Regions from separate parts of the Homo sapiens genome. Here region 2 is linked to region 1. Evidence: promoter capture Hi-C in 16 types of primary human blood cells and fetal thymus (Javierre and others, 2016). All regions are on one chromosome and are shown on one strand. The core of a region is centred on a gene start or on the middle of the fragment in contact, and the rest is flanking DNA. Distances in the headings are between cores, read along the strand shown. Region 1 holds the start of TMPO (thymopoietin). Region 2 holds the start of SUDS3 (SIN3A corepressor complex component SDS3).

What was found. The method cuts DNA at HindIII sites, captures the fragments that hold promoters and counts their contacts. A CHiCAGO score of 5 or more calls a contact.
Region 2: a contact is called between the fragment with the promoter of SUDS3 here and the fragment with the promoter of TMPO in region 1, in 1 of 17 cell types (naive CD8 T cells). The highest score is 7.0, in naive CD8 T cells.

The regions. Positions count from the first base shown.
Region 1 is chr12:98,511,786-98,518,036 of GRCh38, reverse strand. It overlaps TMPO (thymopoietin), which reads right to left and starts at 2,447. Exons shown (of 9, transcript NM_001032283.3): 1 at 1,891-2,447. The coding sequence starts at 2,169. TMPO-AS1 (TMPO antisense RNA 1) reads left to right here and starts at 1,811. Exons shown (of 2, transcript NR_027157.1): 1 at 1,811-2,046; 2 at 2,140-5,064. RefSeq lists a silencer at 1,688-1,957 and enhancers at 2,298-2,487, 2,748-2,827, 5,979-6,251. The HindIII fragment of the contact is 4,246 bases long and covers 280-4,525 here.
Region 2 is chr12:118,374,756-118,380,378 of GRCh38, reverse strand. SUDS3 (SIN3A corepressor complex component SDS3) reads right to left here and starts at 3,824. Exons shown (of 12, transcript NM_022491.3): 1 at 3,546-3,824; 2 at 148-217. The coding sequence starts at 3,687. LOC124903031 (a long non-coding RNA gene) reads left to right here and starts at 4,252. Exons shown (of 2, transcript XR_007063480.1): 1 at 4,252-4,423; 2 at 4,588-5,081. RefSeq lists silencers at 3,428-3,577, 3,608-3,827 and an enhancer at 3,269-3,769. The HindIII fragment of the contact is 4,103 bases long and covers 562-4,664 here.

The sequences.
Region 1 (6,251 bases), core at 1,198-3,697:
CACCAGGCACGGCTAATTTTTGTATTTTTTTTCTTTAGTAGAAACGGGGTTTCACCATATGGGCCAGGCTGGTCTAGAACTCCTGACCTCAGGTGATCCACCCGCCTGGGCCTCCCAAAGTGCGGGGCTTACAGGCGTGAGCCACCGCGCCCGGCCTCAACCAACTCTACTTAAAGAGTTTAAATACTACCTTCTTTTTCAGAGCAGGGAAACATAACGGGTAAGCGGGTACGCTTTTATTTCAAAAGTAAATTTGTTTATTAAGAAATTAAAGAAGCTTTCCGCAAAACAAGATGTTTAAACAATAAGGTGTGATTGGTCTTTTATTTATTGTACAAATATTTGGCACTACTATGTGCCAGACACCGGACTGAAGACGTTTGGTAAAACTTTCAACTTCTCTGAAGCCGAGAATAAGATTTTCAATTAAATTTACATGTGTCTATTACATTTGTCTTTCATTTCTGCCTGAGTAGCCGGGAAAACACATTAGACAGGTTCCTTAAAAACTAAAGTAAAATTTGAAGGAAGGAATAATTTCGGTTTAAACTAGTGATCATTCCCAACAACTCCAAACACCACATTCACTGTCTCTTACAAGGCATTTTATGTTACACCAATTACTAGTTTTAGCTTCATCCTATTACGATTTGAAGCCTGGTAACTCGGCAGGCATAAGCAAACCCACAAAAAGCATATTAAAATCCACAGGTAAAAAAGCAAACTATTCTGAAACAAAACATGCTTTGCTGGAGCCGATTTGAGATTTAACCAGGATCAGACATTCCAAATTGCAATACTGATGCACCAGAATGTCATGAAATAAATTTTTCCTGAATCCTAAGTCTTTCGTTTCCTCAAGCAAAATTTACCAATATGTGGGGAAAACGCAATCCAAACTGCAATTTTCAAATATTTGTTTGCAGGGCCGGGCCCGGTGGCTCACGCCTGTTATCCCAGCACTTTGTGAGGCCGAGGCGGGAGGACCACCTGAGGTCAGGAGTTCGAGACCAGCCTGACCAACTTGGAGAAACCCCGTCTCTACTAAAAAATACACAAATCAGCCGGGCGTGGCGGCGCATGCCTGTAATCCCAGCTACTCGGGAGGCTGAGGCAGGAGAATCGCTTGAACCCGGGAGGTGGAGGTTGCGGTGAGCCGAGATCTCGCCATTGCACTCCAGCCTGGGCAACAAGTGCGACACTCCATCTAAAAAAATAAATAAATAAAAACTAAAAAATTATAATAGGCGCCTAAAAATATAGTTTAAAATGCTCCTTTTAATTCGGCATGAACCTGTTCCGCCAAAAGATGGCCTGTTGCTGGGAAAAATTAAAACAAACTAGAAAACATAAACGGTTCAAAAAGCCCTCCACACGCAAAAGTATAAAAAGGCGGGAATTTCCTCATTTCAAATTTTGGTTAGAAATTAGAGTGTCATCAGTTGCCCTCCAGGGAGCGCTCTGAGACTCTGCTGCGAGTCATTTCAGTTAATAAAGCGGGAAAACGCTCGAACTTAACCTATAGCATTTTGGGGCCACCCCTCCAGAGCTTTCGAAAGGGCACGGAAGTCCCCGTCTAAACGCCCGCTGCAGGCGGCTGGTGGTCCAGGGAAGCGGCGTCGACTGCGTGCAAAACAACCGCCGCCAACGCAACTCCACACCTCCCAGACCCACACGTCAAAGAACGCGAACCCCGCGGCCCCAACTTCTGGCCTCTCCGCTCCGGCGCCTGCAGCCCCGCGGGGAAGGGGCGACGCGAGGGGGCGCAGGGACAGCCCCGCACCTGGGAGGCCCGAGGGGGCGCCCGGGAGGGAGGGGCTGCAAACGGCGGCGAGCGCGCGCGGCAACCGCCAAACGCCCGCCTTTGTAGCCCCGGCCCCGCGTCCTTACCCTGCCGACGGCTGCTCGGCTCCGGCCCGCGGCGGCGGCCCCAGAGCCGAGGACCGGGGTGGGCTCGCGCTCTTCGTCACTGGAGAAGTCCGGGGGCCCCTTGCTGTTGGTGCCGGCGGGGAGCGGCGGCCGGTTGCGAGCCGTGAGGTGCTGCAGGTAGAGCTGGACGTACACGTCTTTGCGCTGCTCCCCGGCCGGCAGCGTCACATTGTTGGCGACCAACTCACTCTTCAACTTGTCTTTTGTCAGGACCGAGGGGTCTTCCAGGAACTCCGGCATCTCGGGGATCTGCGAAGCCCCCTCCCCACAGCCTTTGCCGCCGCCGCTCACGCCGGCGCGCTTGCTCCTGGCCGGGGACCGCGCTGCCGCCTCCGAGCCTCACGGCTCCTGCCCGGGAAGAGCGCTGCGGAGCGGAACAAAAACTCGCGGACACAAAGCCAAGCCAGACCCGGACACAAAAGACCCCAGAGCCGAACTACGAACCAACTGCGGCCAAGCTGGAAGCTCGCACCAACCCCAGCCCACACACTACAGGCAGGAGGCGAGCAGCCTGCTTCGCCCACGCCCCAAGAACGCGCGCCGCCATTGGCGGGCGACGGGAGGAAGCGCGGCGGTGATTGGCGAGACGGCTCGCGCGGGTTCCATTAGCCGCCGCGCTGAGCGAGAGGAGGTAGAAACGCAGTTTAAAAGGCGCTGGGGCGGGAGCCGAGGCTCCCGGCCCGCTTCTGTTTTCGTTTTCTCCACCCTTCCCCTTAGACGCCGATAAGGGACAGGTCGTACTGCTTTTGTGCGCCGTTTCCTCTCCCTCCCCCAGCTTGAGAAGCAGCTTTCGTCTCTGGGGTCGATCGCCTACGAACGCGCCGAATTCCACGCCAGTGTGAGGACCCTTGGCTGGGCCTTTCTTCCTCCCGGGACACTGAAGCTCCAAGAGTAGCCGCAGCCTTGCCTTCCCCAAACGCTAGCCCTGAAGGGGAAGAAAAGAAGCGAGGCTTGTCTGCAGGCACTCATATTCCTTGATTTGATTTACTTTGGGAGGGGGAGGGCGGGGAGTTACCCCTCTCCTCGCGAACGCTTCTTTTGTTCCAGAAACCCAGGGGAAGCCAGACCTCTACAATCGGGCACTTAAATTACCCTTGAATTTGTGACAAAAGTGTACTATACCATTCACTTCTTAGTGTCATAGTTGGGGCATGTCTAAATTGTTTAATTTGAACAGTGCGTTCAGACGCAAGACAAATTCGCGCTTGCATTTTTGTTGAAACCGTCTCTGGCTTTGGATCCCACCACCCGCAAGAATCCTAAACCTAACGTTTGATAACAAAACGAAGGAGAACCCTTGGGAACCCCCTCAATGGTCAATTTAAAATAACAGATGGTGCATAATCCTAAAGGAAGACTAGTGACCTATAATTAGGCCTAGAACCCTAATCAAACCCGTATTACCGATCCAAATTAAAACCTGGTAGAATCTAATACATTGACTGCAATTAAAATGTTTGCCTGGAAATTAGTATCACTGATGACAAATATTTGTATTTCTGATGAATATGTATGTTTAAAGATGCTTTCTTTCTAGAAAGGAAAGGAGACCTTGGATGTAGGGTGTGTTAATCATTTCCCCAGAATCTGAGCTCCAAACTATGTTTTAGAAACTGGTTAAATTTTTTTTAAATGTTTGCCTGCTTTCTACATTGCTAGGTTAGAATACATTTAAAACAAACGCCTTCACTAAAAATGTTTCCTATGATTTAAGCGACTTACTTTTATTCAAATTGCGATATTATTTCTTTTAGTGATAATTATTTTCCTAGAGGTAACTAATTCCTTTATAAAAATCTCAGTATTCACATACATTTAAGCAATGGTATTAAGCTCAATAATGCAAATTAAAAATCAGGTTTTAATTAGCAAGTTGTTAGGTAGGTTTTTATGATCCCTTGTAAAAGTTGCTTGGTTTTTTGTCCTCACAGCTTCCCTGGACACATAGGCAAATGTTTTTATCTTCAGAAGGGGAACTGAGCTGAGAGGCAAAGGACCATGACTTTGCAATGACTGGTAACCCAGTACGTATAATGCAAGAACTGCATTCTAGATACGCCTGAAATTAATGTTTCCTGGGCAAAAACATTTTCATTATCTTTTTTTTAATCCCTGGACATTAGCTACAGGTGGTTACTTGCAGATTTACTGCTGTAGAGCTCCAAAATTGAGATTACACTTTTCAGATTCTGCGTACCCTAAGGCTAAGAGGTTGGGCTATTGAGTTTGGGTGGTCTCTTTGGTCCTGATTGCTACTTCCAAACCATTTCTGCTCTTTTCTGCTTCAAAAATATTTGAAGTTCATATCTTCTGGCTAAATCACTTTCTACTCTCCTTCCTGCCATCATCCACGAGCCTCCTGGTCACTTTCCAGAAATTATAGAGCTGCTTGCCGTAGGTTTTCCTCACCATCCCTCTTGTCTACATTCTATCTGAATTCAGCATGCTTGTAGGTGACCCATGCAACACCAACACTTGGCCTCTTAGACCTCTGACCTCTTCATCTCCAACAATTTGTTCCTCTCTTGCGTCTTAACCACTTCGGTATCAGTCAGATTCTGAACCTTGTCATCAGTTGAAATCTCAGTTTCAAGCTTCCCAATTGTCAATCACTAGCCTTTTTTTCCCAGCTAATTTATGGTACTCTCACTTACCTAATTAAGACCTCCACGCTATTAACCCCAACACTTAAAAAAACTCAACTCTTCTGCTTCTGCCATCATGTAATAATTTTGCAACTCACCTGACTTAAATTCCCTGATCAGTCCTTTTCATCACTCTTTTACAAACATTTTCAACTCTCTGATCTCAATGTCTCCTTTTTTGCTTGAAAGAATCTCAGCCTTGCTTGGACTAAACCATGCTCCAGCTGAACTTTCTCATTGCTTACATCCAAACAGCAAAAGCTGCTGGAGAAAAGTCAGTCATATAACAAGCTAACTGGTTTTAATTCATGACCTCAGTCCTCTCAGGAGCACTCAACACTGGCTGGCAATGCTATTCCAGTCTCTGGGTTAACCATTCATACGTTCACATCTCCTCAAATTTCACATCCTTTTTCCCTACCTCTCATTTTTAGCTGGTGACCTTGCCTCAACTTCAAAAAATAAAAACCACCTATGAGGAATGCTTCAACGTCAGACTTTCCAATTTGCATTCATTTTCTCTTGCATTTTTCTTTTCAGTGAAAGATGTGTCCTGTCAGAAGGAAATTCCACCACTTGTACTCTGGCTCTCACCCTTCTCAAGGAATTGACTCTTTCCATCATCTCCTTAATACTTGTTTCAACATAAAAGATAATTTTTAAAATATTTGATCAATGTGACACAAAAAACACAAAGGCTGAGCACTGTGGCTCACGCCTGTAATCCCAACACTTTGGGAGGCTGAGACAGGCGGATCCCTTGAGCTTAGGAGTTCAAGACTAGCCTGGGCAAAACAGTAAAACCCCCTCTCTACAAAAAAATACAAAATTTAGCCATGGTGCCCACCTGTAGTTCTAGCTACTAGGGAGACTGAGGTGGGAGGATCACTTGAGCCTGGGAGGTTGAGGCTGCAGTGAGCCATAATCCTGTCACTGCATTCCAGCCTGGGTGACAGAGTGAGACCCTGTCTCTAAAATCAATATGTGTAAGATGTAGATTGGTCCCTTCCAGAAAGGCGGGACAACTATTAATAAAAGTGGGGGTTGGGGGGCTCGGGGTGTTCCAGGTCATTGGTAGATAAAAGTAATTTTAATTCAGAAAATTTCACAGGGAAATGAGAGTTTTTAGAAGTCTTAATATTCTGACTGTGGTCAGAATGTCCAACAGAGACTAGGCTGGAGTGCAGTGACGTAGTCTCGGCTCACTGCAACCTCCGCCTCCCAGGTTCAAGCAATTCTCCTTGCCCCAGCCTCCAGAGTAGCTGGGACTACAGGCGCCTGCTAATACACTCATCTAATTTGTTTGTATTTTAGTAGAGACTGGGTTTCACCATGTTGACCAGGCTGGTCTTGAACTCCTGACCTCAGGTGATCCACCCGCCTCAGCCTCCCAAAGTTCTGGGATTACAGGCATGAGCCACTGTGCCTGGTGGATGCAAATTTTTTTTTTTTTTTTTTTGGAAATGGAGTCTCCCTCTGTTGCCGAGCCTGGAGTGCAGTAGCACAATCTCAGCCCACTGTAACCTCTGCCTCCCAGGTTCAAGCAATTCTTCTGCCTCAGCCTCCCAAGTAGCTGGGATTACAGGCGCCTGCTGCCACGCCCAGCTAATTTTTTTGTAATATAGTAGAGACAAGAGTTTCACCATGTTGACCAGGCTGGTCTCAAACTCCTGACCT
Region 2 (5,623 bases), core at 2,575-5,074, about 20 Mb before region 1:
GCAATGAGCATTTCCTTTGAGCATCATGCTGGCACTCAGGAAGTTTTAGATTTTGGAGCATCTGAGATTTCAGATTTGGGATGCTCAATCTATATAAAGATGTTGTCAATTCTATGTTCCAAAAAGACATAGGCATATCATACTCACTGTTCCTTCATTTCTACATAGTCTTCTTCATCATGCTTTGCCAGGTCAGTTTCACTAGCATCCTCAGTGTCTGAATAAAGTTAGGAAATAGGGGCTAGTTAAAATCATAATTCACGGAGTTGGCGTCACCTGACACAGAGTATGCACTCAATAAACTCCCGTAAAATCAATTTCTATTCAAGGCAGGCTTGCACAAAGCCATCAATGAAAAACATTACATACAGTTAGTAGGCCATCCCTATCTGCAAACACGAAACCTGTGGACACAAAAGGCCAATGCAAAGAATTTGAGTATCCTCAGGTTGTAGTATCCATGAAGTCCTGGAACCAGTCCCCCATAGATACCGAGGGACAGCCGTACTTCAGAAAAGAAAAGGCCATTTCCAACTTACAGTCAGATTTATGCAAAAAGCTTGCCTTTACCTGAAATGCAGCCACAGAATAGGGTGTCTCAGGCACAGGCAGTTATGGTGAAGGCTGCTACTTCTGCAGAAACAACAATGCTGGCAACTCAAGAAAGGAGATGCAGGCGTAAGACTGGACACTGCAGGCAGTCAAGCCTTACTCGCTGCTCCAGAAAAAAACTAGTATGTACATTCTCTTCTGATACATACCCAGTTGGAACCCTTCGCACATTTTACATCAGGATACACGGTTGTCCCTCAGTATCCGTGGGGGAGTGGTTACTGCACCTCCCGTGGATACCAAAATCCTCAGCTGCTCAAGTCTCTGACAAAATGGCATAGTATTTGCATATAACCTACGCACATCTTCCAGTATACTTTTCTTTTTAATGAGACACAGTCTCACTCTGTCGCCCAGGCTGGAGTGCAGTGGCACAATCTCGGCTCACTGCAACCTCCACCTCCTGGGTTCAAGCGATTCTCCTGCCTCAGCTTCCCAAATAGCTGGGATTACAGGGGTGCACCACCACACCCGGCTACTTTTTGTATTTTTAGTAGAGATGAGGTTTCGCCACGTTGGCCAGGCTGGTCTCGAACTCCTGGCCTCAAGTGAACCACCTGCTTTCGCATTCCAAAGTGCTGGGATTACAGGCATGAGCCACTGCACCAGGCCAACAGTACACTTTAAATCATCTCTAGATTACTTAGAATATCCAGGCCAGGCATGGCAGCTCATGTCTGTAATCCCAGCACTTTGGAAGGCCAAAGCAGGAGAATCACCTGAGGACAGGAGTTCCAGACCAGCCTGGCCAACGTGGTGAAACCCCATCTCTACTAAAAACACAAAAATTAGGGCCAGGTGCAGTGGCTCACGCCTGTAATCCCAGCACTTTGGGAGGCAAAGGCAGGTGGATCACCTGAGGTCGGGAGTTCGAGACCAGCCTGACCAGCATGGAGAAACCACGTCTCTACTAAAAATACAAAATTAGCTGGGGGTGGCGGCACATGCCTGTAATCCCAGCTACTCAGGAGGCTGAGGCAGGAGAATTGCTTGAACTCGGGAGGCAGAGGTTGTGGTGAGCCGAGATCGCGCCATTGCACTCCACCCTGGGCAACAAGAGTGAAACTCCATCTCAAAAAAAAATAAAATAAACAAAACAACAAATAAAACCACAAAAATTAGCCAGGCATGGTGGCAGGTGCCAGTAATCCCAACTACTCCGGAGACTGAGGCAGGAGAACTGCTTGAACCCAGGAGATGGAAGTTGCAGTGAGCTGAGATCGTGACACTGCACACCAGCCTGGGTGAGTGAGTGAGACCCCATCTTAAAAAAAAAAAAAAAAAGATTACTTACAATATCCAATAAAATGTAAATACTATGTAAGTAGTTGTTACGCTACACTGTTTAGGAATAACAAAAAAAAAGTCTGCACATGTTCAGTACAGATCCAATTTTTTTCCTGAATATTTTTGAGCTGCGCTTGGTTGAATTCACAGATGCAGAACCCACAGATACGCAGAGCCAACTGTATACAATAAAAAAGGGGAATCTGACACAAATAAATATTTTCCAAGTTACAACTAAAGGGAACAAGGAGGAGGCCAGATGATCAAACGAAAACTGTTTCAGAACATCTTAAACATTGTTCTTAGAACAAGCTAATGGCTGGGGTGTGTACAAAATTTTAATAGCCCCTATACTGGAAGGAAAAAAAAACTCAATTTTGGCTCCACAGCGCCCCCTCGTGGGTATGAGATGAAGTGCAAGTGCTTCACATTCAAAATCTCTGGTTAAGCCGTGTCTTCTGATGGAATTAAATCGAATGCAGTCCCTCAACTTTGTATGTCATGCATATGCAGCTGTCTTTTGTAAGGCTGTTGCAGATCCAATTCCCCACAAACCCTTCTCCCCTCCTTCAGTCAAGAGGCCTTCCCTGAGTTCCTGTCATGGTCAGCCACATTACTTGGCACTCGGGAAACTCAGATGAATAAAACGTAGGCCCCATTCCAAACAGCTGGTCTAGCTTTTGCTCCACGGCCCGATTTTGTCCCAGAATATTCCGCTCATATATCGGTCTCTCTTTGTTTCCTATTTCTCCTCCCTTGATCTCTCACATTTCATCACCTTCCTCCTCCTCCATCCCTCCAAAATAGCGTTCCTCACACTTGCCAAATTATAAAGCCCAGTTTGAAAAGCAAGGCTCTGAGACTCTGTGATGACAGTGCAAAGAGCGTGGGACTGAAAACACAACACCTGGGGACCATTAAGCAAATCTCTCCCTCTCTTACCTGTTTCCGGGAGGGGGGCGGGTGGGGAGAACATTTACGGAGTATTTACAGTACCAGGCCAAGTACTTTATGCGCATGTCATTTAATCCCTATACCGACCCTAGGAAGTGCCTTCTAGGGCAGGTGTGGGAATTAAACAGCTCCATTACAGTTGGGTAAATCGAGGCTGGAAAACTTAAGTTTACAAAGCTGAGTTAAGTGACAAAGCCAAATTTAAACCTGTATCTGGCTGGTTCTAGGTCCCTTTCCTTTAACCAACCTGAGTTCTCAATAGTGTACTACCTAAAGTATAGATGACTTATGCATTTCGGGGGTGGGGAGGGGCAACTTTGGACTCTGATGCTCTCACACACAAAAAAGGGGCGAACTACACTCGATGTATTCAGTAAATGAGTTTCTAATTCCTACTAGTGAGTGAGGTTCAATCAGAAACGGCTGGGAGGGAGGACGGGGTCTTAAAGGGACCCCCAGCGTGACAACATCTAAGTCCCCTCTCCCCATCACGGTCGAGTGTAACGCACCCAGGGCTTCCCCGCTACTCCAGCACGGATGGGGGTAACTTCCCCGAGCCCCGCAACTCCCGGCGGCCCCTCCACGCAGCCCCAGGCCCCGGAGGCCGCCCCGCCCCTCTCCCGAACAGCCCCACCCCCTCCCCCAGCGGTCCCACCTCCGCTCCGGGCGGCCGGGCGAGCGGCAGGACTCACCTTCGTCCGACTCGCGGCCCCGACAGCTGCGCTCGTCGTCCTCGGCGCTCTCCAGCTCTTCATCCTCCTCGGGGTAGTACTCGGGGGCCGGCGGCGCTCCAGCCTGGGCCGGGGCCGGGGCCAGCAGCCCCGCGGCACTCATGTCGCCTCTGACCGCAGCTGAGCGTGGCCCACGGACACCGCGGCCACCCGCGCTCGGTACTCGCCGTCTGCCTAGCAGTGTCCGCGGCAGCCCCCAACTCGAGGACCGGCAGCCACGGCGACCCCTTCCCCGTCTCCGCCGAGCTCCGCCCCCCGCGCCCGCGCTCGGCAACGGGGGCCTCGCGCCGCGAGCGACTTCCGGGTCGAGAGCTGCCCGACAACGGCCTGATTCCGCCATCCTTGGGGGAGTGGAGATGCCGCTGGACGCCCCCGTCGCCACAACCTCAGCCCTTTCATCGCCGTCTTAAAATCCTCAACGTATAGTGGGGGAGGGGCGGAGCCAGGTTCGCTAGAGTCAGGCAAATCTACGGGCAGGCCCAGCAGCGGTCAGGACCCCGAGGCTCGCAGGCGACTTCCGGAGACAGCCGCCAGGCGGCGCCTGGAGCTAGAACTAAAGCGGTGATCGTTAGCGACCTAGGGGCGGAGGGTTTGAAGGGCCCTTGGCAGGTGGAGGTGGTCTCTAATTTAAGCAGGGAACGACGCGACCTGCCCCCTTATTAGGTCGGAAAACCTAGACGTCCAGAGTGTGCGTGATCATGCAGCCTGGCTCCTCCTGTGACTAGTTAGAGCTTTATTAAGAGCTAAAAGACAAGGATGCTGATATTCCATCCTGGGGACAGCAAAATAGTATTTTCCCAGCCCTTAGGAATCCTTTCTGTTTGTGTAAGGTTTATTCGGTAAGATGTTCCCCCGGTTTTACAAATGAGAAACGAGCTGTCGTTTGCCTAAAAAAAAATAGTAACGTCCAGTCTGATTTTTTAGACTCCGAGACCCAGGCCCTCCGCGGTACAGCTGCCTTGAATATTAATTTTTTAAAAGGTGCTTTTGCTTAATCCAACAGCTTGCTCTGAGCTCTCAACTGAAGAAGGGGAGAATTTGCCTACCAGAAGTTATTTGGCTAAGGCCCACGTGGAAGCTTAAAAAACAGGAGAGCTGAGTATCTGCAAGAATTAATTTGTGCGATTCCCTCTGAGTAGAAAAGGAACACGGTGTTATAAGTTTTGCTGAACGAATAGATTTAAGGTGTCCCTTTAGCTAAGAGCAATGTGGTCTAGTTGTGTGTAGCGAGAAAAAAGGGTAAGGTTTTTAATGGTTTGTCCAAAGTAGCCCCACTTTTATGTTCCACCCGAGTCTCCGTAGGAAACGCAACCAGTAGTGAAAATGAACAGATGTGAAAACCAGGGTGGAACCGAATATTCCCATTCTCAGACCTTTTGTGATTAAATTTATCTCTGAATTGTTCCCTATGGACTCTTCTGAAAATGAAACGTTATTCTCATCCCACTTATTTTGACATTTATTTACTACCTTGTTTTAATTAAAATCTTGGCTCTATTTGTAAGTGATTTTTTCTCCCAACAAAACTAAAGAATTTCCAGAATGGAATGCTAAGATGTCTTTCCAGGAGTTCTGAGATCTTCTGAAGCCCCTTCTAAATAAGAATCATTCTCAGATCGCACCGTAGGTCTGCCATCTATATTTAAACTAGGATTCCAGAACTGTCTCTTGTCCAAAAGATGAAGTCATTTTCTTTCTTTGTGCTGTTGGAGAACATCTAAATTACTTGCAATCAACTATATTGAGTAACTTGCGTTCCTGTCAGTAGCAGTAATCATAGTGCAGAAAAAGCAAAGATTTTAGAAATCAAGAGTTCATTGATACAATTAATTTTTAAGTTTATTTCGTTGCTAAATGGTTTCCTTTCAAGACGCTGAGATTTTTATCCTGCTTATGTTTTACTGCTGTCTTCTTGACTGCAAACAGCATCTGTTAATGGTCATGCATTTCTTTTTTATATGTAATGAATAGACACAACTGAGCACTTGGGTTATGAAAACTTACCCCATTTTTTTCTGTCCAGATTGCCAGCTGCAGAA